Linked DNA regions of Homo sapiens: region 1 is linked to region 2. Evidence: promoter capture Hi-C in human tissues and cell types (Jung and others, 2019). All regions are on one chromosome and are shown on one strand. The core of a region is centred on a gene start or on the middle of the fragment in contact, and the rest is flanking DNA. Distances in the headings are between cores, read along the strand shown. Region 1 overlaps ERO1A (endoplasmic reticulum oxidoreductase 1 alpha). Region 2 holds the start of FERMT2 (FERM domain containing kindlin 2).

What was found. Contacts are between HindIII fragments. The study calls those that stand out against the background at their distance.
Region 1: a fragment that was not itself captured here is called in contact with the fragment with the promoter of FERMT2 in region 2 in 1 of the 25 tissues and cell types used here (ovary).

What each region holds. Positions count from the first base shown.
Region 1 is chr14:52,664,201-52,671,285 of GRCh38, forward strand. It overlaps ERO1A (endoplasmic reticulum oxidoreductase 1 alpha), which reads right to left. Exons shown (of 16, transcript NM_014584.3): 7 at 2,175-2,295. Among named protein-coding and RNA genes, the nearest start is that of ERO1A, 28 kb to the right of the region's middle. RefSeq lists an enhancer at 1-9. The HindIII fragment of the contact is 3,237 bases long and covers 3,686-6,922 here.
Region 2 is chr14:52,948,974-52,956,501 of GRCh38, forward strand. FERMT2 (FERM domain containing kindlin 2) reads right to left here and starts at 2,077. Exons shown (of 15, transcript NM_006832.3): 1 at 1,948-2,077; 2 at 1,439-1,604. The coding sequence starts at 1,595. RefSeq lists a silencer at 1,846-2,055 and an enhancer at 2,776-3,354. The HindIII fragment of the contact is 21,614 bases long and covers 1-7,528 here.

The sequences.
Region 1 (7,085 bases), core at 4,054-6,553, 280 kb before region 2:
CCCTAAATGAAAGACAAATAAGCAAAAAATATTCAATATAAGCATTAAAATTTAAAAATGGAAAAAAAATAGTGTAGATTATTTTCCACTTAGGTAATCTTTAGACACATCAATTTGCCCTGTAGCTAAGTTTGTTACAATTTAAATAAAAGTTGTTTGTTCAGTAGGAAAAAACAGAAATTTTCTGGAGAGTTACTATGTCATTAAAGTGCTTTTAAATCCCAAAATAAATACGCGTTAGTATTAATAGTAAACTATAGGGATTGTTTTAACATCTATTTTAAAAATTTGCAAAACTGGAGACATTTTGAGAACAGAATATGTAAGCTGTATTTTAAAATACACAATATAATTAACTTAGCCCTTTATACATTGTTTATATTGTTAGAAATTATGGGAATCAGGACACAAATTAGTAAGAAAATGACTACAAAAGTAATACAAATCTAACAAATGCTTCATGGATTCTTTTATTATTTTTCTTTGAGACAGAGTCATTCTTTTTTTTTGAGACGGAGTCTCACTCTGTCACCCAGGCTGGAGTGCAGTGGTGCAATCTGGGCTCACTGCAAGCTCCGCCTCCCGGGTTCACGCCATTCTCCTGCCTCAGCCTCTCGAGTAGCTGGGACTACAGGTGCCCACCACTACGCCCGGCTAATTTTTTGTATTTTTAGTAGAGACGGGGTTTCACCGCGTTAGTGAGGATGGTCTCGATCTCCTGACCTCGTGATCCGCCCGCCTTGGCCTCCCATTCTTAATTCACACTAAAAATAACAACAACAGGGCCGGGCGTGGTGGCTCATGCCTGTAATCCCAGCACTTTGGGCATGGTGGCTCACCCCTGTAATCCCAGCACTTTGGGAGGCCGAGGTGGGTGGATCACCTGAGGTCAGGAGTTCAAGAACAGCCTGGACAACATGGTGAAACCCCGTCTCCACTAAAAATACAAAAATGAGCCGGGTGTGGTGGCGTGTGCCTGTAGTCCCAGCTACTCAGGAGGCTGAGGCAGGAGAATCGCTTGAACCTGGGAGGCAGAGGTTGCGGTAAGCAGAGATGACGTCACTGCAGCCTGGGCAACAGAGTGAGACTTCATCTCAAAAAAAAAAAAAAAAAACCTTTAAAGTAAATCTTTAAGTCAGTAAATCAAACATTTCTAATAATAGTCAAGATAATTTAAATAAAATACATGGCAGAAATAAGTAATTAATAAAAACTCTCTACTTTCCAAACTGGAGAAATTCTTCAAGTCAAAAAAAAAAACACCACAGTCTGACATTTTATTGGTGTAAGCACAATTACTGATCTCATACTTATATTTGACTTATAAAAAGTGAAATATATAATATTATCCCCATATTTGGGAACTCCAAAGACTTTCCCAGAACTCTCTCCATCTCTAAGACAGCATAATGTGCTCGCACATACATTGATCCCAAAACCAGTGAGTACAAAGTTTAGCACCTCAAGACTTACGTGTGAGTAACCTGAAGCATTTCTCAGATACCCAGTGATCAGCAACTGCCTCCAGCCTAATGGTTACCCCGTACAAAGCGGGCTCTTTCACTTACTAGATCTTTGACACTGAACAAATCATTTAACCTCTCTAAGTCTCAGTTTCTCTGTCTATAATACAGTGATGACTGCAACACAGGGTTATTGCAAGGACTGAAGAAGAAAATGTATATAACATGCTTACCACAATGCCTAGAATACAGTGAGTGCTCAAAAATGATACCTATTATAATTGTTCTCTGAAATCAATTTAACTGTAAAATAATTAAAGCCACAGACAAGGGTGTACAGAGCACCAAAAAGAGAATTAAGAGTTGTATATTCTTTTCTCTACACTGCCACTGTGTGATCTTGGGAAATGAAGCAAACCTCTCCAGCTCTAGGTTACCTTAACTATAAAATGAGATCCTATAATCGACTCAAGGAACATTTGTCAAGGGCCTACAATACTCCCATAAAGGTCTAAAGGAAAAATCTGTGGAAACTCACGTCTATATATTTCCCCAGAAGGAAACTGGATTAATGAATAGTCATGTTTCCTTGTACAAACACATCTTTTAACAAAGTGAATTTGATTTTTAATTTTAAATCATTATGATTTTGTTTATAAAGAGAAATCACCACATCTTATAGGAATTTTTCTAAATGAAAATGACACATACTTAAAACAGTTTTCTTCGTAGATGACATTCCATATTTTCCAAGCATCTGGTCCCTTGTAACCAGTGTAGCGCTCAGGATTAAGAAGCAAATCTACATATTCAGCTTCAGGGGACTGAATGTCTGTAAAATAAAATGTCTTATTAAACCTTTCTTATCCTCAGTTACCTTAAAAAGCTACTACACAAGACTGTATTCCATTGATTCTAACGCACCACAAATATAACAATGTGTCAGGAATTTTAAAACAACTTTTCAGGAGAAACAAAGGAAGGAGGCCGGGTGTGGTGCCTCACACCTGTAATCCCAGCACTTTGGGAGGCCAAGGTGGGCGGATCACTTGAGGTCAGGAGTTCGAATCCAGCCTGGCCAACATAGTGAAACCCTGTCTCTACTAAAAATACAAAAATTAGCCGGGCGTGGTGGTGCACGCCTGTAGTCCCAGCTACTCGAGAGGCTGCAACAGGAGAATCACTTGAACCCGGGAGGCGGAGGTTGCAGTGAGCCGAGATTGCGCCACTGTGCTCCAGCTTGGGTGACAGAGCGAGACTCCGTCTCAGAAAAGAAAGGAAGGAAAAGAGAGAGAAACACACACAGCCACATTAATTGTACACACTGGCTACAAAAACATTATGATTTAGGAATTGTAAAAATAGGAATACGTGAATTTTAGAATCAAAGAAACATGGTAATTCAATTATCATAAGCTATTCAGACAAAGAATATAACATACATTTCCCTCCACATTAACCACAGCAGTTCATCAATAACTACAGTAAATGAAGGAGTGTTAGTATTGTACACTGCGTGTTACCAAATACTTTCTTCTTAGATGACCACCAGCAGATCCAATCTGGCCAAAAGCAAAAGTTACAATGCAGCATGATTCTGTGTCAACATTATTTATAAAAGGGAAAATTGGAAGCAACCTAAACATCCAACATCACAGAACAGCCAGAGCATGGGCTCTGGAGCCAGAACACCCAGGCTAGAATCCAGACCCTGTTACTTATTTATCATTTATAATGTGTTATAACTTCAAAACAAAAAAGATGGTCGGTCCCAGGGTGGGCACGATGGTTCATGCCTGTAATCCCAGCATTCTCGGAGGCCTGGGGGCAGACTGCTTGAGCCCAGGAGTGATTCTAAAATTCACAGGCAACCTGGTGAAACACCAGGCATCAATAAAAAATACAAAAATTAGCCAGGCATCATGGCACGTGCCTGTGGTCCCAGCTACCCAGGAGGCTGAGGTGGGAAAGTCACTTGAGCCCAGGAGGTCCAGGCTGCAGTGAGCCGTGATTGCACCACGGCACTCCAGCCTGGGCAACACAGTGAGACTGTGTCTCAAAAAAAGATGGGCCATAGTCCTCCAGTGGCTTTGGGAAATTATTTGGTACTATAATAATACTTTATTCATATATAAAGCTTAACAGTATGAGCCAACAAAGAATTAAAAAGTGGACAAAAACGGTCTCAATGCAACCAAAGTCAATAACAAAAATATGAGCACAAAAGTGCTTAGAGTCCATCAAGCTCTCAACTATACCTATTTTTATTATTAAAAAAAAACCACAAAAACAAAAAAAAACCCTAAGCTTGGTTATTTTTTACTCCAATTCACAGTATATTAGAAGCATAAATTAGGGGGAAATTTGCTTCTAGAAGCAGTACAATGACGGCATCTTAAAATAGCAGAGTTCAATGCAGAAGTGGCAATTAAAATAACTAGAAAAACAAAATATAAGGACTTAAAAAACAAATTAGCATGGAATCATCTAGTTCAGGAATGGATAACTGTTCATTTCAATTAATACTAAAGGCAAGTGCCACATATAAATTATAATAAATTCATTTTTTAAACCCTGATGTTTAAAATATATAAACAGCAGGCCAGGCATGGTGGCTCACGCCTGTAATCCCAGAACTTTGGGAGGCTGAGGCGGGTGGATCACATGAAGTCAGGAGTTCGAGACCAGCCTGACCAACATGGAGAAACCCCATCTCTACTAAAAATACAAAATTAGCCGGGCATGGTGATGCATGCCTGTAATCCCAGCTACTCGGGAGGCTGAGGCAGGAGAATCGCTTGAACCCGGGAGACAGAGGTTACAGTGAGCTGAGATCACACCATTGCACTCCAGCCTGGGCAACGAGAATGAAACTCTGCCTCGGAAAAAAAATAAAAATAAAAATGAAATAAAATAAAATACATAAACAACGGTCAGTATCCAGGACTTTGAGAAAACTAACCACCAAGAAATGATTAAATTTTTAAATATTCTACCTAGAGATAAACATTTGTTGCCTCATAATTCTACTTATTATAAATACTTCATTCTTCTTCAAGCTTATAAAAAATAAATATTACTATATTATTATATTACAAATCTTATAATTATACTATAATTATAATTATAATTATACAATTATATTTGAAGTAATACTATAATTATATTAAATATTACTATAATTATATTTGTGCCAAGAATTTTTATGATGCGCTGGTTCCTATCACTGAATAGAACCTGAAGTTTTTCATAGAAAACTAGTCAAACATGTTTTGTAAAATCTAAGAAAAGACATTTAAGAGCCCATTTGGCCCTTATAGGAAAATGCCAATATCCAGCCCTAGAAGCAGAAAACATGCGTTCTGCAAAACCTATATGATATGCTGTTTTCTATCACTGAATAGAACCTGTTTTTGACAAAAGCTCAAATTTCCAATTAGGATTTTAAAAATACTTTCTATATTTCACGTACCATTTACATCCATTATTTATTCCTGCTAAAGCTTTCTTTAAAATATTCAGCTTTTTTTAACAGAAGACACTAATACAAATGGGCAAGTGATTCACCAAACTCTACCATATAAGAAATGAATCATTGATTCTCACCTGGTGCTGCACATTGTAGTCACAAAAGGATGTTAATTAAGGTTAAAATATTACCATCCTTTTTCTAACAGTGGAGGACTAAAAAAAATTATAGCTGCATACTATAAATTTAGTTTTATCTCACAACAATATTTAAGGTAAAAAAAAAATCCTTGTAGAAAAGATGGCAAAATAAGGGAGTTGGGAGAACATCTTATCCCCTTCCTTCACTAGTCCAAATCTTGATATAGGTCTATACCCCTCATCCAACATGCCTGGGACCATGCGTGTCTCGGCTGGAATGAACTTTCCAGATTTTACAAAGGTAATACAGTACATGCAACATATATCGCATATTACTCCAGCTGGACCTGGGGGAGCAATCTTTATTCAAACACGTAAATATTTCTACAGTGAAACATATACTCACACTAAATGAGCCTCTGCTAAACGCAGGGGGAGAAATGTTCAGTTTTCAGAGTTTCCAGATTTTAGAATTGGAAATAAGGAATTATAACTAAGTATATACCAAAACATGGCTACGGTTTCCATTAAGGAAAGCAATTTTCCCCAAAAAGAAGCCACAAAATTAAAAATACTTTCTCTTTTATGGAGATTGTAGGCTGCATCTTTGGCTTATAATTAAAAGAATTTATATCACTGTTTTCACTAATTTTTTGTTGTGTTGTTTTGAGAAAGGGTCTCACTCTGTCCTAGGCTTGGAGTACAGTGGTGCAATCAGAGCTCACTCCAGCCTCAACCCCCTGGATCAAGCAATCCTCCCACTCCCCGAGTAGCTGGGACTACTGGCACACACCACCAGGCCTGGCTAATTTTTGTATTGTTTGTAGAGACAGAGTTTTGCCATGTTGCCCAGGCTAGGCTCAGCAATCTTCCCTCCTTGGCCTCCCAAAGTGCTGGGATTATAGGCATAAGCCAACAAGCCAGGCCCGTTTTCACTAATTTTTGAAAGAGCGTTAGTCCACTAGAAAAGAGCCACAGAAGAATACCAAGACTCAATTTGATTTATTTTTTTTAGTGAATTAAGAGGCTAACAATTCAACTTAGAAAAAGGAAATACTAGAAAAAGGAAGAATTGGAAAATCTATACATCTTGATCAGAGTTGTTTTTTTGGTCTTTTGTTTTTTTGAGACGGAGTCTCGCTCTGTCACCAGGTTGGAGTGCAATGGCACAATCTCAGCTCACTGCAACCTCTGCCTCCTGGGTTCAAGTGATTCTCCTGCCTCAGCCTCCTGAGTAGCTGGGATTACAGGCATGAACCACTGTGCCACGATCAGAGTTTTAATGAATCTGGGGCTCCTAGCTTTTAACAGCAGCAGCACTCTGGCTTAACTTCAGACATCACAGACTCGACTAACGGTTCAATATTCACTTCTCCAAAAGCAACACGGACCATCATTAAGGAATATACATAACAATCCAACAGCAATGTAACTGAAGCAGATTTTTGTAATCCCTAAATTTTAGCTATTTATACAAAATGTATATACAAAATTATATAAACCACAAGCTACATAGAACTGCAAAACTTAAGAGGTACATTTTTTCTAGAAACTGAGTTTTTTTAACTGTAATAAAATTGATATAATAAAATTTACAGTTTAACCACATTTAAGTATACAATTCAGTGGGATTCATTATATTCACAGTGTTGTGAAACCATCACCACTATCTGTTGCCAGAACTTTTCCAGCACCTCAAACAGAAACTCTGTAACCTTTTAGCAATAACGCCTACCCACCCCAACCTCTGATAATCTTTAATCTACTTTCTGTCTCCATGAATTTGCCCATTGTTTACATTTCATATAAGTGAAATCATTTATACTTGTCCTTTGGTGCCTGACCTATTTCACTTAGCATGTTGTCAAGATCCATCCGTGTTGTAGTATGTACCAGAACTTCATTCCTTTTTCTGGCTGAATAGTATTCCATTGTGTGTTTTATATACCACATTTTGTTTATCCATTCAAACAGTACTGGACAATTGGGTTGTTACCACCTTTTGGCTATAAT
Region 2 (7,528 bases), core at 827-3,326:
AAAAAAGGTTCATACATATTTTGCAAACAGTGACTGATTTATTCAAATCAGATAAAAATACTGTTAACTGCCAGTTAAATGGTTAATCAATACAGCAAAATCTAATTTTCACTGGGCTACCTAGGAGGATTTTCTTTCCTGAGCTGTATCTCAGGGAGCCAAACAATGCAGTCTTAAGGAAGAGGCTACCTTGTAAGGAGCTTCACTTTGGTCCTTCAATAATAAAACTTCCTGCAGGGGTACAAAGCAGGTCCACCCAAATGAATCCTGCCTTATTTTGCAAAATGCATCAGAGTGCTATTTCAGTACCTTTACATACAATAATCCTTTGGTAAGAAATAGATTTCCTGACAAATAAGCACTTCTCTACTTTCCCAGTGTAGCTTGAAAACGAATGCTGTGTTTAAAAAAAAAAAGAAAAAAAAAAAGACGAAAAAAACCCCCAGAAAGTCCCCAACCCCCCTTCACCAAAACAAAAAACAATTCCAGCCTAAAAAGACAATGCCACACAGATAATCATCTTATCACAACTGTATTATGTACAAAAGGCTCTTTAAAGCTCAGGAAGATAGTTCTCTGAGCATTTCTCTTATGATCAAATCATCTATTTAGCTGACTCTTCCAGATGAAAATGGTTTCATTCATCACAAAAATGTGTACTGCACACTCTTCACACACTTCATACTGTAAGATACCTTATTATTTTAAATCGGATATCAATCCAATACATATTTGTACTCAAGCAAACACCGTCAACCTCAAATTAGTTTAACAAAGTCTGCTTTTTAACACAAAGTTCTTTCCTTGGCTTGTTATTAATATAAAACCGAACGCTCGAAACGGCTTACATCGAGCATGGACTATGGATACCAAGTTTGTCAAGCACTGCCCCACCCCTAGTAAGAGTGGATGACTGGAACATTTTAATGCACTCCACCACGTAGAACAGCCACAGAAACTTCACACTGGCGCCAGTAGTTGCACATTTTCCAGCACAGATTTTTCTTAAATGGATTTTGCATCATTCTCTATACCAAACGTCACTAACATTCAGGTATGCTGAAGACATAGATAACCACGGACACTGTAATATCACCCTCCCAACACACTTTCCTCATTCTTTTATCGTTCTGTCAGTAAATGTTAAGAATTAACGAGTTCCCCGGCACACATCCCCCGTCCCGCGTAACTACGCAATTAAGGTTATAATTGGGAGGCTCGAATCATTACATATGAAAATTCAGAGAATAGCAAAACAAAATAAGACGCAAAGGGGAACAGGTCTATCTGCTTAAATACTGAAAGATTTTACATCTCCAAAAAGCATTTGCGAGATGCCAAGATTTCTCAAATGGGCCCCTCCCCCGTCGTGAGCCTCTTTCCTCCCCCTACCAATTCTGGGAAGTCATTAGTTGGACGCGGCTGGGATGCTACTCACCGAGTTTCTCCACCAGCTTAAGCATCACGCCTCCAATGTGCACCTCGCCGGTCACTCTCAGGGTGACATCGCGGTTCAGGTCCGTCACATGGACACTCAGTTCCCACGTCCCGTCCGCGTAGCAGCCATCTGGCATCCTTATCCCGTCCAGAGCCATGGCTCCTTCCTGCGAGCGCGGAGGAAATGGCTCTCGTAAGCGTCACTCCCCCAAAGAAAGGCGAATCCCACCGAATTCGCAGCGCCGGCCACGGGCTGGGAGGTGGTGGAGGACCCGGGGCTTTCGGCAGAAACTCGGGAGGGCGGCGGCGGCCGGGGCTGCGGGAGGACCCTACGCCCCGCTCGCCCCGCAGCGTTCCTCGGTCCCGGCGCCGCCCGCCCCACACCGTCCCCGCCTAGCGGACCGCGGAGGGCTTCACCTGCCGGCCGGCCCCGAGACACAGCGCGGGCTGACTCCCCGTTCCCCTCCCCGCCGCGCCCCCTCGGGTCCCGGCGGGGTCCCGCTCCCTCACCGCGCGCTCCTAGCGCTCCGGGCCCGGGACTCGCGCGGCAACAGGCGAGGGGCTGGAGGCTCGCGGGGCGGCGGTGTCCGCGTCCGGTTCCTCGGCTGGCGAAGCGCTGCCTGTGGCCGGAGCGGCTAATGGAGTCCCGTCGTCGCGGCCCCTCGCCTGGCTCCCCGCGCTCCACCCTCTCCCCGCCCCCTCTGTCCGAGCCTGGCTGGGCTGGGCGCGCTGGCTCCCTCCTTCGCCGCCCGCAGAGCTGCCCTGAGCGGGTCCGGCCGGCCTCGCCTCTGCCCCCGCCCTCCCGGCGCCGCGCTCGGGGGAGGGGGCTGCGGGTCCCGGGCGGGGCGGGGCGGCGTGGGGCGGGGCGGCGCGGGGGTGGCGGGGGGCGCGGCGGGGCGGCAATCTCGGCCCCGCGGAGCGCTGCCCTTTTATGGAAATGAAGGACCCGGCTCAGGAATTGAATCCAACATCCGGGCTCTAGGCGGCGGGCCCTGAGGAGGGGGAGCGGGGGAGCGCGGGCGGCCTTTCCCGGGGCGCTGGTGGCCGGCGGGGCGTCTAGAGCTCAGGCTGGACTGGGGCCCCCGCGGCGTGTGTCCGCGCTGGCAGCAGGGAGAGGGGGCTTGTCCGTGAGAAACGGCCCCAGGAAATTCCCAGGGCAAGGTCGTTTTCGGAGAACAAAGTCCTCTCGCCCCCTCCCCACGCCTGCAGCGAGACAAAAAGCCTCAGGGAGGTGAGAGGTGCCGCACCCCGGGAGCTGGAGAGAGGAGTCTGGGACGGAGAAACTTTAAAAAGTAAATGCCCAAACCAACTCCTTGAATGTCCTACAAAAGAATAAGAAAACCCCGAGGGAGGTGAACCACAAAAATTGCTTTGCAAGCAATGTCCGGCACCATCAGCAACTCCTACTGGACTCCCAGGAGTTTGCAAGCGTTCTTAACCCCTTCGGACGCTCCAGCCAGATGCCAGTCAAACAGATGATGCTCTTGCCTGAGGGGAAAGGAAAGACACAACCTAGTGCCACAGGTTTTACTCAGAAACTGTTTCCCCAGCTTCTCCAGCTCTTTGTACTTATTTGTGTGTTTTTATATGCAAGTTAGAACTAACAGTCTATTAAAGCTGTTAGATGGAGATACATGTTCCATCCCACCCTCAGCCACACCTTGGATTTTAATACTTCTGGAACGGTGCCTGCAGGTACCAGGAAGAGCTAAACAACTTCACCTGTTGAAGACTGGCTAGTGATGGGGAACGGTCCTCCTGCTTCCCGCTTTTGTTTCCACTTCCCCCATTAACTGTTGTACTCTGTTGAGGGAACTCCTTTCAGAAACAGCAAACCAGAGAAACTGCCTCGCTAGCAAATTCATGGGCTCAGAAAATAAACGTCAAGAAGGCTCAGATTAAAATACCTTTTAAAGATAAAAGACTCCAGTTCGCAGTCTCATAATCTTGTCGAATTGTCTCAAACGCTTGGAAAAGGAACTCGCTAGGCAGATAACCTTTTGTTCATTAACATTACTGGGAAACAAGATGAGAGGCCTCAAGAAAGGGGTGGAACTCAGAAAGGAGTGAAAGCAGCAAAATTTAGTCAGATGCCAAAGGCTTGGCAGAAAAAAAAATAGGGAAAACCACTACAGTGTTTTTAGCTAGTTATCATGGAGAAATTGATGCCTTCAGTCTCTTATCTGTCTACTCTCCAATATTTCTACTCGTGGACGTTCCAAATAGTTCACTTGAAAGCAATATGAATGTCCGGAGATGAGGGAGTTTATGTAAATTATGGGGTTGAAAATATACAGGAAAATGTTTTTAATAAATTAAGGAATTGCTTGTTAGGGCACAAAACTGCAGAACTGGATATGCAGCTATAAAATTAAGAGCTTATTTACGTTAAATGTTCAGAGAAAAAGACTGTAAGGAAATACAGCAAAATGTTAAGAAGCTCTCTGGGTCTTGAGATCACGGAAGTTTTTTCTTTCTTTTATTCTTTATTTTCTGCCAACTCAAAAACTTTACACCACCACCTAGAATTGCATCCAGCATTTCAGTTTCTCTGTACATGCCATGACATTCACGATGATAGACACTGGATACAGCAGCTACTGACTGAACGATGGACAGGATTTTCAGAGGTTTCCTTTGGTGTTTTTTAAATAGTTCTAAAGAAAACTTGAGTTCTTTAAGAGCAGAGATTTCAAATTATTTTCATTGTCCACAAATTCACAATAGCTTGGTACAGAGAAAATGGAAAACATGCTGGTGTCAAACCAACACAAATGTCAAAGAAACAGTGGGTCTGTTCCATGGAGAAATCTCAGGGGCCAGGTACAGTGGCTCATGCCTATAATCCCAGCACTTTGGGAGGCTGAGGCAGGAGGATCACTTGAGCCCAGGAGGTGGAGGCTGCAGTGAGCTGTATTCACACCACTGCCCTCCAGCCTGGATTGATCGCAGAAAAACAAAAAACAAATCTCAATGGGAAAATCCCCACTTTAAAAATATACTTATTTATTTCCCCCACTTTATCCCCCAAAAGATTTATGGCAACGTATAAGGATGCATAAACTGTGAGATAGTATACATTATAAGTGGCACAAAACAAGAAAAAAAAGGTGGGTGGGGATTGGGAGGCTTAGAGGGGTGGAGTAGAGATTTATTTATTTATTTTGGAGTAGAGATTTAAAATGGAGCTGGGAATGAAGCTAAGAATTGTATCTTATGACATTTGCACATGCTCCAGTAAGCTACAAAAAAATTATGGCTTTCTAAACATGCCTTTCTAGAACCTAAAATATCTATGCCCTTTCTGAATATTCCCTTTCCTTCAGACAAAATTGTTGAAGCCAACTGTCATGGTTTAGAAACTCTTTTAATACAGATGGTCCCTGACTTATGATTTTTTGTTTATGACGGTGTGAAAGCGATAGGCATTCAGTAGAAACCGTACTTTGAATACCCCTAGGACCTTTCTGTTTTTCACATTCAGTACAGTATTCAATAAATTACATGAGATAGTCAACACTTTACTATAACATGGGCTTCATATTGGATCATTTTGCCCAACTGGAGGCTAATGTAAATGTTCTGGATACATTTAAGATAGGCTAGGTTAAGCTGTGATGTTCGTCGGTAGGTTAGGTATATGAAATGCATGTTTGACTTACAATATTTTCAATTTACAGAATGTAACCTCATCATAAGTTGCAGAGCATCTGTACTCGGTTTCCAAATTCTAGTTATTTTCCCACTTTCCAGTAAGAGTTACTTTCTGAACACCCCCACGACAGCACCGACTGCTCTAACTACCGTGCTTTCCTGAATCCACTTCTACGAATGTTCTCTACATTTAGTGACAGAGAGTGGGGGTGGGGAATTTTAATATTGTGAATAACTGCCCTATTTCTTAACATTTGAAATCGCTTGAGTATAGCTTCATAAGACACTTTACTGGCTTTAGAAAGTCAGCAGTATATATTTGAGCAATTAATGCACAGGAAGGCAAGGACCTTCAGTTAAGTACCAGTGGAAGAATAATTAGATTAGGTTGGGTGCAGCTGATCCCTTCAGGCCTTCTTTTTGACTATTTCAAGCTGTCACTTGCTTTGAAGATTAAAGAGGAGTCAGCCTCACCTCTCTGAAACTGGGATTTTTTTTTTCCAGTTTATCAAGTGACGCTTTCAAGTGCATTTCTTAAATATTCACTTCTACCTAAGATTTAGAATGTATTCAAATGTAGACTCTTATCTGAAATCCCCTGCTAGAACCACTAGGACAATGCAATGCTTGTGGTACTTACATCATACTGAAAAGTAGCTGAGTACGCCAGTGTTTGGAAGAACAGCTCAAGCAATGAAAGCAGCAATATCCAAATAAGGTACCAAGCACTGGACTTAGATTTAGACCAAGCAGTGCCTCACAGATCTGCCGTCAAATGCAGCCCTCGGGCTTGGTAATGCTCAGGTTGACTTTAGCTTTTTTTCTGTGCCTACTTGCACTGTGCTTTATATTTCTAGAAGGTCAATTCAAAATATAACCCCTGGGTTTGAAAGAAGGAGAGAGGATGGGGGTAGGAGAAAATAAGAGAGGATTTGTGTGGGTGTGAAATGTGTAAGGGGGGACTTGAAAATGCGACATGAGGCCAGCAAGATGAAATGTAATGAATTATTCTTGTCAAATACCAGGTGGGTAGAATTCTTTCTTTGTCTTGGGGATTGCCAAAAATGGCACACACCAATAACGCTACTAAAGAGGTAGAAATCCAGGGGTGTGGAATGTGATCTAAATGGGAAGGGAGGTTGCAAAAGCCACTTTTTTGACAGAAATGGGCAGTCACTGTAATTAGCAAGAAAAGGACTGGCAAACTGAGAAACAAGATTTGCTAGGAATATGGCTGTTTTCACAGACCAAAGAAGGGCTCCGAGATAACAGTGAAATCTTTAAGGGGAAAGAAATGCACTGCTTACATTTACTGCTTTAGTTACAGAAAGTTTTATGTAGGAAACCATGCTCGGGATACCTTTTCCCCCACCTCCCCCCACCGACTTAAGTTTGAACACCAGGACATCTTGTGAAATATTCTTCACCTCAACAAAAATATCAAATGTTCACACGTACAAACACAGTAACTATGTGTCTAGCACAGTGTAGGACATTGAGACAGGCATGTAAATGTATAACACATGTCACAAATTCTTAAGGAACATCTATCTGATACAGGAGGCTTATATTTAAAACATCAGAAAGGACAGCCACGTACAACATATACAAAAATTAACTAAATACAGCATAGGCTTAAATGTAAGGTCTAAACCTATAAAATTCCTCCAAGAAAATATAGTACTAAACGTTATGACCTTGGATTAGGCAATGGCTTCTTAAATAAGACATCAAGGCATAAGCAACAAAGGAAAATATAGTTAAGTTGGATTTTATCAAAGTTTAAAATAGTTATATTTTAAAGGCAGCAACCAAAATGTGAAAAAGCAATTTATAGAATGGGAAGAATATTTGCAAATCATATATATTTTCAGTGACTTGTATAAAAAATAAATAAAGAGCTATTACAATTCAACAATAACCCCAGACAAATAACCTAACTAAAAATGGGCAAAGAATATGGATATACAGTTGTCCAAAGGAGACATACAAATGGCCACACAGAATATTCTCAACATCATTTATCAGCAGGGAAATACAAATTAAGGTACAATGAGATAACACCTCACATCCTACTAGAAGGACTATAATAAAAAAGATGATAACAAGTGTTGGTTAGGATGTGGAAAAATTGCAACCCTTATACGCTGCTGATGGGAAAGCAAATGGTAAGTTGCTTTGAAAAACAGTTCGGCAGTTCCTCAAAAAGTTAAACATAGAGTTACTATATATATGGTCACCATATATATATAGATATAGTTAGCATATACATAGCTACCATGGTCTGAATGTTTGTGTCCTCCTAAAATTCATATGTTGAAATCCAAACCCCCAATGTGATGATATTAAGAGATGGGGAAGGCCTGGTATAGTGGCTCATGCCTATAACCTCAGCACTTTGGGAGGCCTAGGTGGGAGGATCGCTTGAGCCCAGGCA